4 separate regions of the Homo sapiens genome follow, and all the other regions are linked to region 1. Evidence: promoter capture Hi-C in human tissues and cell types (Jung and others, 2019). All regions are on one chromosome and are shown on one strand. The core of a region is centred on a gene start or on the middle of the fragment in contact, and the rest is flanking DNA. Distances in the headings are between cores, read along the strand shown.

Region 1 (3,588 bases), core at 25-2,524:
TTACGTAAGAGAATATTCTTTCTATGCTTCCTCAAGATTCCGGGGATTCTACTCTCTTTCTCATTCTTAGTGTCTCTAGTCCTACACAAAATCCTGCATTTCTGAAATTTAACCCTTACCCCTTGGATCTTGGAACAGCAAAAATTAGACAACCAATTCTGACTCCAGTATTTCCTAACCCAGTTAGCATGAAAAGTTACCTAAGCTCCCCAAGATATCAGTTCTCTCATCCATATACTGAATATAATAATCTACGTAAGCGGGTTGAGGGTTAAATGAGACAATCCTCAAAGCATTCAGCAGGCATTGCCAGAGGAAAAGCAATTAGTAAATGTTTTCACGACCACAGTTCTCCTAACCATTCAGACAACTTGTAAGTGGAGTCGAGGAGCTCTTTCACGCTGTAAACATGGACGTGGGAGGAAGCAGAATCTAACGGAGACTGGGCTGAAGGCCGAGGCGAGAGAACGAAGACTGAGGCGGCGCTGACGGCGGCCGGTGTGCCTCAGCTTGCCATCAGGAGTCGTTACCTTTGCTAAGCTCGGAGGGTTTCACCTCTAGGAGTTCCTCAGCAGTCTGGAACCCCGCAGACACCAGCTTCACCCGCACCGCTGGAGACAGCGGGAAACTCACCAAATCCCGCTGCATTTCAAAGCGGAACGTCTTCCCGCGCATCGCAGGCTCACCTGCTAACCCCGGAGCAGCCAAACTCCGCACGCCCTCGCTGGGGCGTGCGGCGTGACGTCAGACGTAAAGCGGAAGGGGCCGGCTCTGCGGCCTGGCCGCACGGGGCTCCGGGCCTTGCAGCTTTGCGCAGTCTTGTAAATTTTCACACTTATGCACCATTCCGTTTTGATTCCCCAAAATCCCATTTAGAGATTCCTCATCAAATGTACACCCTGACTGTAAAACGATGGACGGAGACCATAGGACGGAGAGCCAGGCCCAGTGGGTTCTCCACGCCACATTTCCTTGCCTCCACCGTGGCCTGTTAGGTGAAGCCTCAGAGTCATTAATAGGAATGATCTCGAGTGGGAGTAGTGAGCGTAACGGGCACACACTAGCCAGTTACCATTATTTTGGTGTGAAAAGCTCAGGGAACAATCATTAGAATTAATCTGCGTGCTCTTTGTAGAGTTGCAGTCTCTTGGCTCTTCCCGCTGACCGTCCCCCTTTTCTGACCCCCCCCCCCCGCAACGACCACATTGCTTTTCCCGCCCTCGCGAGGGATTGTGGGCCAGCCCCCAACGGCCGCTGGGAGGGATCAGTCCGCATTCCCCGCACCCACCCACGTCTTCCCGGGAGTCGTATCCCGAGCATGGAGGTTACTGAGACCGTTATTTCTTCATGGCCTGCCTAGCTTAAGCAGTAGCTGGAAAAGTAAGCAACTAATGTCCCCATTAGTGTGTCTGGGCTCCTGGGGTCCTGAGAAGGAGGGGCTGGGCTACACAAGAGCTCCTTTTGTGGTACAGACTTGGGAAGGGGTGTTCAAGCAGTGGTAGTGACCGCCTCTAAATTACAGAACTTCGGGGAGGAAGGCAAGCAGTTTAGAAGGTGGTTTATGAGTTCCTTCCTTGCCTAGGTGAGTGTAACTTATTTAGCAGGGGGTAACTTATTCCCTACCTATTGGCGATTTTTTTTTTTTTTTTTTTGAGACAGAGTCTCACTGTGTTGCCCATGATGGAGTGCAGTGGCACGATGTCGGCTCACTGCAACCTTCGCCTCCCGGGTTCAAGTGAGTCTCCTGCCTCAGCCTCTTGAGTACCTGGGATTACAGGCGCACGCCACCATGCCCGGCTAATTTTTGTATTATTATTAGAGAAGGGGTTTCACCATATTGGCCAGGCTGGTCTCGAACTCCTGACCTCGTGATCCGCCTGCCTCGGCCTCCCAAAATGCTGGGAGTACAGGCGTGAGCCACCGCGCCCGGCCCTGTTGGCAATGATTCTTAGTCTTGACTTTTCTTCCCAGCTTAGAAGAACTTTCTAAATATTGCAAATCAGAGCCCTCTACATACTTAGATCTAAAAAAGGAAACAACGTATGTTGAGCACTTTAGCAAATCCCACACATTTCAAATGGCCATAGCCATGCCAAAAGGAAGATAAGGACATGGAAGCTCAGCATATAGTTTAATATCAATTCTGATAAAAGAAAAAAAGCTGGCCGGGCGCAGTGGCTCGTGCCTGTAATCCCAGCACTTTGGGAGGTCGAGGCAGGTGGATCTCTTTGAGCTCATGAGTTTGAGACCAGCCTCGACAACATGGCGAAACACTGTCTGTACCAAAAGTACAAAAAATTAGCCGGGCATGGTGGCATGCACCGGTCGTCCCAGCTACTCAGAAGTCTGTGGTGGGAGGATCCCTTCAGCCTGGGAGTGAGCTATGATCACGCCACTGCACTCCAGCTTGGGTGATAGAGTGAAACCCTGTCTCAAACAAACAAAACACCTCAGCACAGTTTTCTTAAAGCCAAGATTCAAACCTAGCATCCTTTTTACTACCCCGAGCTATTAAGATTTTGAGTCCCTACTGGCGGGGAGAATACGAGAAGCATTTATACCCCATTTGGTAGGTCAAAGAAAGTCTTGTAGGACTGGCCAAAATGTGGTTGGCCACTCAACCCATTGCTTAACTTCTAATATGGTCTATATTTGAGCGCTCAGTGGATGCATAAATACTATCTTCAGGGAGATTTCATGCTTATGCTTATAAAGCACCCAGATTCTTGGGTGAAGAAAAAACATGGTATTACCACATTCAACAATAAGTCTTCAGTTAGTTTGGTCAAACTCAGTGGAATCAGTCGTGTTTAGAATTTCTTTCGTTGACAGTGGAAAGTTCAAAACTACTTTGGCCTGGCACAGTGGCTTAAGCCTGGAATCCAAGCACTTTGGGAGGCCAAAGAGGGCACATCGCTTGATCTCAGGAGTTTGAGACCAGCCTGGGCAACAGGGCAAAACCCCATCTCTACAAAAAATACAAAAATTAGCCAGCATGGTGGTACATGCCTCTAGTCCCAGCTACTTGGGAGGCTGAGGTGGGAGAACCAATTGAGCCCGGGAGGTTGAGGTTGCAGTGAGCTGAGATTGCGTAACTCCACTCCAATCTGGGCGACAGAGCGAGACTCCATCTCAAAAACAAAACAAAGCAAAATAAAAAAAACAAAAAAACCCCCACTCAACTCTATCTATAGCTGTATAATTTAAGTGCTATTAATATCTTCTGCAGATCACAAGGTCAGGAGATCGAGACCATCCTGGCTAACATGATGAAACCCCGTCTCTACTAAAAATACAAAAAATTAGCTGGGTGCGGTGGTGGGCGCCTGTAGTCCCAGCTACTCGGGAGGCTGAGGCAGGAGAATTGCATGAACCCAGGAGGCGGAGCTTGCAGTGAGCCTAGATCACGCCACCACATTCCAGCCTGGGCGACAGAGCGAGACTCCATCTCAGAAAAAAAAAAAAAAAAAATCTTCTGGCCCTTGCCTATAATAATTATTTTCATCATCATTCTTAAGATGTCTTTAATGCAATTTGCTCTGTAGTCATGCTTTCAAACTGGGATCCAGGTTTTTGAAACCACGCACT
Region 2 (3,588 bases), core at 373-2,872, 370 kb after region 1:
CAGTCGCTGAAGGACACCCAGGACAGTTATTGAGTGCAGAGCAGGGCTGCTGCTGGAAGCTAAAAAGGGAAAGCTTTGGCCTGGATAAAGGACCCATCTCCCAGGGCACACGTGGGTCCCAGGATCTCAAAGCACTTATGGCTCCAGGACACAGGGGTGCAGCCTTTGTACTTACACATCAGCTGGAGACAATGGGAGGTGGGTGGGCAGACAGTACCCCTCTTTGCTCTTGCTAGGCAGGGATCTCTTGCTGGCTGAATGATGGGGTGGGAACCTGCTCTGGGCAGGCTGGGCTGGGGCAGGCTGCCCTGGGGCCCTGTTCTCAGGTGCCAGCCCCTTGCCCCTGGGCATTTCCAGGCCACGCCCCAGGAGGATGCGGACAACCTACCCGTGATTCTAGGGGAGCCAGAGAAAGAGCAGAGGGTGCAGCAGCTGGTAAGTCCTAGGTCAAGGGCTGGAGGCAGCCTGCTGTGGGCAGATGTACCTTCCCTCATGAGGAGCACTTGGTTCTGACCCCTCAGGAATCGGAGCTCAGCAAGAAGCGGAAGAAATGCGAGAGCCTGGAGCAGGAAGCCCGGAAAAAGCAGAGGCGATGTGAGGAGCTGGTGAGCTCTTGAGGGCAACCCAGAGGCCAGCTCCTCCCTTCACCCCGGCCAGCCAGGTGGTGGGCTCCCTCTCAGCTCTGCTCCCACCCCTGCTGCCCTCAAGAACACATTTTCCCTCCTGCTCCTTTCCTTTCCTGGCTGGTGCAGGTTCCAGCAGGGGAGGAAGGCCTTGCCTGGGAGGAGGGCAGGGTCCTCTGTGTGGGGAGAGGGGGAATGTGGGTGCTGGGCTCCCTCCTGAGAGCTCCTCTGCCCGCTCAGGAACTGCAGCTGAGACAAGCGCAGAATGAGAATGCCCGCCTGGTGGAGGAGAACTCCCGGCTCAGTGGGAGAGCCACAGAGAAGGAGCAGGTACCACTTCCGCCCAGGTGCTGTGGAGACCTGTGCTCCCACCACTGCCCCGGTCCCCAGCCAAGGGGCTTTCTCCTCCACCCCTGAGCAGGGGTAGGGTACTGTTCCCCCTGTGAGGGTGCTGGTGGGTCAAGGCTCACCCACCCAACTCCCTGTCACTGCCCCCTCGCCAGGTGGAGTGGGAGAATGCGGAGCTGAGGGGCCAGCTCCTGGGGGTGACACAGGAGAGGGACTCAGCCCTTCGCAAGAGCCAGGGCCTGCAGAGCAAGCTGGAGAGCCTGGAGCAAGTGCTGAAGGTGAGGAGATGGTGCAGGTGGGAGAGGGTGCTGGGCCCTGGCATGGGGAGCAAGTGGGACAGCAGAATATTCTTAGTGAGGGGCACTAGCTCTGAGGCCTGGGCCTGGAGCTGCTCCAGGCTCAGTTTCCTTTGTAATAGAGGAATCTGGAGCAAATGGTGTTTGAGGCTTCCTCATCTTAGATCTTCTCTAGAAATGGCCAAGTAGGGGCTCTGGCCTTGACTCAGATCTTGTGTTTCAGCACATGCGGGAGGTGGCCCAGCGGCGGCAGCAGCTGGAGGTGGAGCATGAACAGGCTCGGCTCAGCCTACGGGAGAAGCAGGAGGAGGTCCGGAGACTGCAGCAGGTGGGGCGGCAGTGAGGGAAGCTGGCAGGCTGCTGGACACCAGCTTTGCCACTCACTCATTCCACAAGCATTTACTGTGTGCCCGGCACTGTGCTAGGCGTCGGGGAGACTGTGGGGAACAAAGACCAGGTCCCTGAGCAGTCAGCAAATTAGCATCCAGGAGTGAGCTGATTTCAGACACTGATGAGCACAGTGGTGGAGAAGAACAGGGTGATGTGACAAAGTGACTGGGATGGGGTGAGGAGCCACTTTAGAGGTCATCAGGGAAGGCCTCCCTGAGGAGGTGACAATTGACCTTGCCAGCCAGGAGGTGTAGACATGCACATGCTCTGTGGCAGGGAAGAGCTGAAGAAGCCTGAGACCAATGTGGCTAGAATACAGCAAGGGATGGGCAGCGTGGTGGGAGTAGACAAGAACCCGATCCTGTCGGGCCTTAACGGCCATGGGAAGAGTTTGGGTATTTTGCTCTGTGAGTAGATAGAAGCTCCTGAAAGATCCTAAGTGGGGGAGTGACATGATCTGAGTCATAATTTTACAGGATCACATGGCTGGTATTATGGAGGGTGGACTGTGGGAGCAGGCGTGGAGCAGGGCCTGGGCGGTGGCCTGGGAGGGAGATGGTGGCTGTCTGGACAGAGATGCATGCAGTGGAACGGGAGACAAGTGCCTGGGTTTGAGTTATGTTTTAGAGATAGAACTGACAAGGTTCTGGCCGGGCATGGTGGCTCATGCCTGTCATCCCAGCACTTTGGGAGGCCAAGGTGGGTGGATCAGTTGAGGTCAGGAGTTCGAGGCCAGCCTGGCCAATATGGTGAATCCCCGTCTCTACCAAAAATACAAAAATTAACCTGACATGGTGGCGGGCCCCTGTAGTCCCAGCTACTCAGGAGGCTGAGGCAGGAGAATTGTTTGAACCCGGGAGGCAGAGCTTGCAGTGAGCTGAGATCGTACCATTGCACTCCAGCCTGGGCGACAGAGCGAGACTCCATCTCAAAAAAAAAAAAAAAGAATTGACAAGGATCCCCGTGGGATTCCAGTTGAATCCCTTCTCTGACAGCCATTTGCTGTATAAACCTTGGTGGAGGGTGGGGCTCTTCATACTCCGTGAGGTGAAGGATGAAGGGGCAGCAGATCTGAGAGGTAGGTCATCCCGAGTGCTGAGTTCCATTTGGGCCATGTCTGAGCTGCGCGTTAAACATTCAAGGGGAGCTGTCCACAGGCACTTGGATACATGAGCCTGGGGTTATGGGTAAGTTGGTCTTGGAGATATTTGGAGCCACCAGTGTGTTTAGTTGTATGAGTAGATGGGAGCCCTAGGAAGAGAGTAGACAATATAAACTGGGCCCAGCACTGGGTCCAGGGTAACCCTAACATTCAAAATGGGGGACAGGGAGCAGGCAAAAGAGGCTGAGAAGGAGCATCCAGAGAGGTAGGGGGGAAACTGGGAGGATGGTTGCTCAGGAAAGAGGGGAGCTGACTCAGCCACGCTTCTCCTGGTCCCCTTTGCCTTCTGGTCTAAGGTATGGTTCAGGGTGGGTGTTCAGGAGGGAGAAACCCTTCGGCCTCCCCCTTCCCTATCCCTCTTCCCTCTCTCCCTACCCTTTTCTTTCTCCCGGCTTCTTCCTCCCCTGCCTCTGTCCTTTCTACCCTTCCTCCCTCGCAGCCCTCTCTACTCCACCCCATTCCTTCTCCTTCCCTCCAGTATTTTGGTTCCCCCCACCTGTAGGCCCAGGCTGAAGCCCAGAGGGAACATGAAGGAGCCGTGCAGCTGCTGGAGGTAGGGCGCCTGGAAGTGGCCCCCAGTTCCACCATCTTGGGAGGAAGGCGGGGGTCCTCCAGATAGAGCTGAAATGGACTATGGCGGTGGGGAGAGGGGTTGCAGGAGGGGCCCTTAAATGCTCCAGGACCTGGGGGAGTCCCCTCCACCACTGGCCTATTTCTCAGGGTGGGCACGGCTGGGCAGGGGGCTCCCAAGTCTGGTGGCAGCAGTCTC
Region 3 (3,588 bases), core at 383-2,882, 340 kb after region 1:
TGGGCAGAGGACCCCACCTGGGAACCTTTTTCCCTCAGTTAGTGGGGAGACTAGCACCTAGGTACCCACATGGGTATTTATATCTGAACCAGACAGACGCTTGAATCAGGCACTATGTTAAGAAATATATTTATTTGCTAATATATTTATCCACAAATGTGGTCTGGTCTTGTGGTTTTGTTCTGTCGTGACTGTCACTCAGGGTAACAACGTCATCTCTTTCTACATCAAGAGAAGTAAATTATTTATGTTATCAGAGGCTAGGCTCCGATTCATGAAAGGATAGGGTAGAGTAGAGGGCTTGGCAATAAGAACTGGTTTGTAAGCCCCTAAAAGTGTGGCTTAGTGAGATCAGGGAAGGAGAAAGCATGACTGGATTCTTACTGTGCTTCAGTCATTATTATTATACTGTTCACTTCACACATTATCATACTTCAGTGACTCAGACCTTGGGCAAATACTCTGTGCCTCGCTTTTTCAGTCCATAAAATGGGCCTACTTAATAGTTGTTGCAGGACTTACATGAGATAATAGAGTGTAGAAAATATGTTCCAAAGTGGAAAGTTTTATTCAGTGATAGAAAACATCCAAACCTGTCACAGAGCCCATCTGAACACAGCATGGGACCGCCAACAAGAAGAAAGCCCGCCCGGAAGCAGCTCAATCAGGAGGCTGGGCTGGAATGACAGCGCAGCGGGGCCTGAAACTATTTATATCCCAAAGCTCCTCTCAGATAAACACAAATGACTGCGTTCTGCCTGCACTCGGGCTATTGCGAGGACAGAGAGCTGGTGCTCCATTGGCGTGAAGTCTCCAGGGCCAGAAGGGGCCTTTGTCGCTTCCTCACAAGGCACAAGTTCCCCTTCTGCTTCCCCGAGAAAGGTTTGGTAGGGGTGGTGGTTTAGTGCCTATAGAACAAGGCATTTCGCTTCCTAGACGGTGAAATGAAAGGGAAAAAAAGGACACCTAATCTCCTACAAATGGTCTTTAGTAAAGGAACCGTGTCTAAGCGCTAAGAACTGCGCAAAGTATAAATTATCAGCCGGAACGAGCAAACAGACGGAGTTTTAAAAGATAAATACGCATTTTTTTCCGCCGTAGCTCCCAGGCCAGCATTCCTGTGGGAAGCAAGTGGAAACCCTATAGCGCTCTCGCAGTTAGGAAGGAGGGGTGGGGCTGTCCCTGGATTTCTTCTCGGTCTCTGCAGAGACAATCCAGAGGGAGACAGTGGATTCACTGCCCCCAATGCTTCTAAAACGGGGAGACAAAACAAAAAAAAACAAACTTCGGGTTACCATCGGGGAACAGGACCGACGCCCAGGGCCACCAGCCCAGATCAAACAGCCCGCGTCTCGGCGCTGCGGCTCAGCCCGACACACTCCCGCGCAAGCGCAGCCGCCCCCCCGCCCCGGGGGCCCGCTGACTACCCCACACAGCCTCCGCCGCGCCCTCGGCGGGCTCAGGTGGCTGCGACGCGCTCCGGCCCAGGTGGCGGCCGGCCGCCCAGCCTCCCCGCCTGCTGGCGGGAGAAACCATCTCCTCTGGCGGGGGTAGGGGCGGAGCTGGCGTCCGCCCACACCGGAAGAGGAAGTCTAAGCGCCGGAAGTGGTGGGCATTCTGGGTAACGAGCTATTTACTTCCTGCGGGTGCACAGGCTGTGGTCGTCTATCTCCCTGTTGTTCTTCCCATCGGCGAAGATGGCCCTGGAGACGGTGCCGAAGGACCTGCGGCATCTGCGGGCCTGTTTGCTGTGTTCGCTGGTCAAGGTGTCAGTCGGGGACCTGGTTGTAGGGCCCATGGGGGACCAAGGTCGGGGAAAGAGGGCGGAATGGGGCTGTGGGACAGTAAAGAGAAAAGTTAAGTCTCAGAACTCAGAGGTGGCAGGGGGAGTGAGAAGCCGAAGGAGGCCATCGTTTACCTCGTAGGATCGCGGACAGGTCTTGCAGCTGAGGGCAGGGGCGGTCTTACATGCCTTTGAATCCTCAGCTCTTAGACGTTCGGTGAACTTACGTTGGAGCCGAAAGACACTGGGAGTCAGAGGCGGGTGGGGATCCGCTGCTGAGTGAGTAGTCGGAAAGGATGCCTGACCCTGAGTAGACTAGAGAAAGGAATAGATAAAACGGAATTGGGAACGAGAGAGGAAGGAGTGGGAGGGTGGGACTTAGGAATGAAGCTTTGAGAGTAGTAGGTGGGGAACCTTAGGATACACAGTCAACATAGGGAAACAAGAAATTGAGCAGGTCGAAGTATTGAGAAAGCTACTTTTTCTCTTGGTCTTGTTCATGCTTATCTCTCCTTTTCCTTTATTTTTCTTTCACTCCCAGACTATAGACCAGTTTGAATATGATGGTTGTGACAATTGTGATGCATATCTACAAATGAAGGGTAACCGAGAGATGGTATATGACTGCACTAGCTCTTCCTTTGATGGGTAAGCCGCTTCAGTTTCCATCATTCACTTCTGCATTACCCAACCTGCACCCAGAGAAGTAAATGCAGGGCAAGTGTTAATCCTAGTTGGGCCCAGCCATTCGTTTTTGGGGGTTATTTTGTGTGGGTTTTTTTTTTTTTTTTTTTTTTTGAATCAGGGTTTTGCTCTGTGGCTCAGGCTGGAGTGCAGTGGCATGATCATAGCTCACTGCAGCGTGGAATGATCCTCTGACTTCAACCTCCCAGAGTGCTGGGATTATAGGTGTAAGCCACTGTGTCCAGCCTCAACAGTTATTTTGGGACATACTAGTGCTATGCATCTAATACAGTGACCACTATCCACGTGTAGCTACTGAGCACTTGAAATGTGTCTAGTCCAAATTAAGACATGCTTTTAAGTATAAAATATACCCCAGATTTCAAAGACTTAACATGAGAAGAAAGAATGTAATCTTAATAATGTTTGTTAAATGCATGAAAATTTTTTTTGAAAATGAAGGGAAGGGAGGTGTAGTAATGGTAGATCATTGCCCAAAAGCTGTTGCTTTTTTTTTTTTTTTTTTTTTGGACAGACTTTTCGCCCTTGCCACTCATGCTGGAGTGCAATGGTGCAGTCTCGGCTCACTGCAACCTCTGCCTCCTGGGTTCAAGCAATTCTCCTGCCTCAGCCTCTTGAGTAGCTGGGATTACAGGCACCCACCACCACTCCCAGCTAATTTTTATATCTTTAGTAGAGACGGGGTTTCACCATGTTGGCCAGGCTGGTCTCAAACTCCTGACCTCAGGTGATCTGCCCACCTCGGCCTCTCATAGTGCTGGGATTACAAGTATGAGTCACCATGCCCGGCCCATTTTAGCCATTTTACTTATTTATTTATTTATTTATTTATTTGAGATGGAGTCTCGCTCTGTCGCCCAGGCTGGAGTGCAGTGGCGCAATCTCGGCTCACTGCAACCTCCGCCTCCCAGGTTCAAGCAGTTCTCTGCCTCAGCCTCCTGAGTAGCTGGGATTACAGGCACCTGCCACCATACCCAGCTAATTTTTGTATTTTTAGTAGAGACGGGGTTTCACCATGTTGGTCAGACTGGTCTTGAACTGCTGACCTCGTGATCCACCCGCCTCGGCCTCCCAAAGTGCTGGGATTACAGGAGTGAGCC
Region 4 (3,588 bases), core at 668-3,167, 280 kb after region 1:
CACAAAGAGGTCACCAATTCTCTATCACACTCTTCCTGCTCAGCTGGTTATCCTGGATTTTCTTAGACTCCAGGATAAAGTTATGATCAAGATTAAAATGTATTCCCCTGAGTCTTCAGACCTACAATGGGAGCAGCAGTAGTTTAGCACTTGGCCAGTAGCAGTGAGCACCTCCTGGAGAAATTCCCCTTTGCACAATGTCTCTGCTTGCCTCTTAATTTTATCTGTTAGTCAACACATAGTTATCCCATCTTTGCATTTTTACATTATTTGTAGGCAGGACCTGAAACTTTAAGTTTTTGGCCAAAGCTAGAGAGACAGTCCTATATTGCAAACTATAGTTGACAAAGTGTCTAAACTGTGACTTGGGGGGCTTGACTTTTAGTTCTACACACAGAAGAATATGCTGACACTAAATATTAATAGTTGTGTGATTTGGGACAAAATAGTGTTTACCTTTCTAGGCTTCAGATTCCCAGGCTGTGAAGTTGAGGAATTAAAATACAATATTGCCAAACTTGTGCTATTTACATGCACTTTACATGTATTAGCTCACTGAATTCTCATAATAACTTTATGAGAGAAGAAATTCAGTACCTTTATTTTTTACATTTTACAGATAAGGAAACTGAGGATTAAAATGTTAATATCTGTCAAAGTATTAACTATTATTATCTAGTAAGTGGTGTTGCTGGAACTTGAACTGCAGAGCCCATGCTTTTCCAGCTCTAAAATTCTGTATATGTAAGAATGCCACAGATGAAGAGAATATCAGTATAGGCTTTGTATAAAAAATTTATTTCCAGAGTAGAAAGGAATGAAAGTGATGAGTACCATTATCTGAGATTGATCCAGAGTGCATCATATCCTGCTACCTTCTAATAATCTCTGTATTTCTTCTATTTCTCTCATTTTGTGTTTCATTTGCAAAGATACTAGTAAATCACAATGTCTGTTTACTCAGTATCTCCCTTATAATGTAACATATTTCATCACCTTTCTCTTCATTTTAAAAGTCTAGGTTAAGTTATCTAATATAGGAACCTGAAATAATAAACACTGACATAGCATGCATTTAACTGGCATTGCTCAAGTTAGAGTTCCTTCTATGAAGAAATTTTGAAATAGAAATTTTGTGATTTTGTTTTGATGCCAGCCTTTAGAAGAAGTACAGAGTAGATATTCAAAGTATGATCAACTCTGTTACTTATGTAAATGAAGGTGCAGAAAATCCAATTAATTAATTACTGACTTTGGAATGTAGTCAGGAGTACACCATCAGACACAGTTCCTCTGTGCGCACAAACATTCTTAGGTGCTTGTCTCCTGTGATCCCAGCTCAGAGCCTTCCTGACATGGCTTTTAGAGTCTTCTATTCTAGACTTGGCCTTGTTGTTAGAAGCCTGGCACCCACAGAATAGAAGGAAGCTGCAGAATATTTTTAATGATAATTTTTCAAGTTAAGAAGATATCTCTTTTATAAGTTATCATCAAACAGATTTATATATATCACAGTTCTGTACTTCAACAAAAATTTGTATCCAACAAAAATTTGTAAGTTCAGCTTCGTACATATCTGGTTAATAGGAGGTAATGAATGAAATATGTCCCTGGCTATTGCTCCCATCAGGCTATTTAGTGTTCATTTGGCAGACTCTCGGTTGGTGGGGGGCGGGGCTGGGGGGGTAGGTACTTCCTTGGGTTTTGTATTATAGTAAAGTGTGTATGTATATATGTGTGTGTGTTGTAATTAGCCCAAAACTAGCCATAATTTACTTTACTTTTTTTGTTTCTTTGTATTTTGAGATAGGGTCTTGTTCTGTCTTCCAGGATGGAGGGCAGTGGCACAGACACGGCTCACTGCAGCCTCAACCTCCTAGTCTCAAGCGATCTGCCCACTTCAGCTCCCCCAAGTAGCTGGGACCACAAGCACGGGGCACCATGCCCAGCTAATATTTCAATTTTTTGTAGAGACAGGGTTTTGCCCTGCTGTCTGCAGTATTAAAGGTATTCCCGGGCCAGGTGTGGTGGCTCATGCCTGTAATCCCAGCACCGTGAGAGGCTAAGGTGGGAGGATCACTTGAGCCCAGGAGTTGGAGACCAGTCTGGGCAACATAGTGAGACCGTCTAAGAAACAAGGTATTCCTGGAGATCATGGTTTTGCTTTTTGTTTTTGTTTTATTAAAAAGTCTTTACATTTTGTTCATTGGAAAGAGTTTATTGGATTTTTTAAATGTTTTTTTCCCTTTTATCCCTTTCAAATTGCTAATTACAGTAGATTTTTTAAAATGTTATAGATGAGTAATATCCTGTTAGGAACCAGAATTGGTAGCAGGATATTGTTAGAGAAGGCTGTGAGAATGATATTCCATTAACTTTATGTAGAAATTTTCTTCCAAGAAGCTTAAAATGATTTGCAATACCTGGAGCCACGTAAGAACAGGTGATATTAACTCCATTTTACAGAAAAGGAAATATATTGGGAAAGAGAAAGAAAGTAAATCATCTAAGAACAAAGTTGCACAGAGACTGAGCCAGTCTGGTTTGCAGGAGATAGGAGAGTAATCAATTTTTAAGGAATCTGAAGATGTGGATTCCTCAGGGGTCAGTTCTACTGAGTGGAAATCCTAAAGGTCTTTTCCTATTTCCCTGAGGACTCATATTCTCCTTTCCTGCTTCATTTTTCTTTACAGAATTATTGACGTGGCATGCTGTAATGTTTCAGTTTTGTAGTTGTCTATCTCCCCACAGTGGAATATGAGTTCTGTGAAAGCAAGGATTTTTGTCTCCTTTGTTCAAAGCTGTATCCCTGAGAATGGCACCTAAGTATACTTACTCCTTGGGCATGGTGGGTACTCAGTAAATATTTATTAATGAATATAATGAATATTGTGGTATTGAGTAACTCTGATGGCTGGGAGATCACTCTAGAATAAAACATGCTTATCACATTTTTAAAGTATGTTATAAGGTGGATTATTTTGAGTGTGTGTGGCTTGATATAGCAGGCTATGTTCCTTTACTCTTCTGACTTACCAACAGCCTCGTGTGTTGTTATTTCAAAATCATAAATATGGCTGTAATCAGTATGTTTAAGGTGCTCCTTTACACAGGATTTTTAAATTTTTTCTTTAGTTTGATAGCTTAAACCTTGCTGTTTAGGATATTTTGGTTTTCCAAGAATGATTTATTCAGGTCCTGATTTTAAACCTTTGATTTTAGGATATTAGCGTGCATCCAAAGGACCTTACCTTCTTAGTACTTAAATTTGTGATTACCCGTTCTGGTTTTTAGATACCCTAAAGCACAGTTTTTAATCTTGTTTGTGTGTGCCACAGGCCCCTTTGAGAATGTGATCATTGTTATTGACCATAGGCACAAAATACACACAAATACTTAACATACACAATTTTGCATAAAATCTCAGTGAGTTGACTCTCTAAGACATATCTAGAGATCTAAGGACTCCAGATGAAAAGCAACTATCCTAACATAATCCCAATTATTTCAAGAAATTAAACCAAATTCTCAAAACAAATTTACCTTCAGTTTACTTAATTTGAAAAGTACTTGTATGTATTACTTAAA

The links. The method cuts DNA at HindIII sites, captures the fragments that hold promoters and counts their contacts. A contact is called where the count stands out against the background at its distance.
Region 2: a fragment that was not itself captured here is called in contact with the fragment with the promoter of TEX14 in region 1 in 1 of the 25 tissues and cell types used here (aorta).
Region 3: the fragment with the promoter of SUPT4H1 here is called in contact with the fragment with the promoter of TEX14 in region 1 in 1 of the 25 tissues and cell types used here (adrenal gland).
Region 4: a contact is called between a fragment that was not itself captured here and the fragment with the promoter of TEX14 in region 1, in 1 of the 25 tissues and cell types used here (aorta).

What each region holds. Positions count from the first base shown.
Region 1 is chr17:58,689,731-58,693,318 of GRCh38, reverse strand. It overlaps TEX14 (testis expressed 14, intercellular bridge forming factor), which reads left to right and starts at 1,274. Exons shown (of 32, transcript NM_031272.5): 1 at 1,274-1,380. It overlaps IGBP1C (IGBP1 family member C), which reads left to right and starts at 1,274. Exons shown (of 2, transcript NM_001395966.1): 1 at 1,274-1,380. RAD51C (RAD51 paralog C) reads right to left here and starts at 717. Exons shown (of 9, transcript NM_058216.3): 1 at 531-717. The coding sequence starts at 675. RefSeq lists enhancers at 360-529, 860-959. The HindIII fragment of the contact is 12,262 bases long and covers 1-3,588 here.
Region 2 is chr17:58,320,315-58,323,902 of GRCh38, reverse strand. TSPOAP1 (TSPO associated protein 1) reads left to right here. Exons shown (of 32, transcript NM_004758.4): 6 at 358-435; 7 at 522-605; 8 at 864-953; 9 at 1,127-1,249; 10 at 1,491-1,595; 11 at 3,322-3,372. Among named protein-coding and RNA genes, the nearest start is that of TSPOAP1-AS1, 3.3 kb to the left of the region's middle. The HindIII fragment of the contact is 5,479 bases long and covers 1-3,588 here.
Region 3 is chr17:58,350,245-58,353,832 of GRCh38, reverse strand. SUPT4H1 (SPT4 homolog, DSIF elongation factor subunit) reads left to right here and starts at 1,632. Exons shown (of 5, transcript NM_003168.3): 1 at 1,632-1,766; 2 at 2,325-2,431. The coding sequence starts at 1,698. It overlaps TSPOAP1-AS1 (TSPOAP1, SUPT4H1 and RNF43 antisense RNA 1), which reads right to left. Exons shown (of 5, transcript NR_038410.1): 4 at 1,919-2,089; 5 at 106-1,834. RNF43 (ring finger protein 43) reads left to right here. Exons shown (of 10, transcript NM_017763.6): 10 at 1-157. RefSeq lists an enhancer at 316-851 and silencers at 1,239-1,668, 1,949-2,058. The HindIII fragment of the contact is 5,411 bases long and covers 1-3,588 here.
Region 4 is chr17:58,408,101-58,411,688 of GRCh38, reverse strand. All of the region lies in intron 2 of RNF43 (ring finger protein 43), which reads left to right. Among named protein-coding and RNA genes, the nearest start is that of RNF43, 7.6 kb to the left of the region's middle. The HindIII fragment of the contact is 8,585 bases long and covers 1-3,588 here.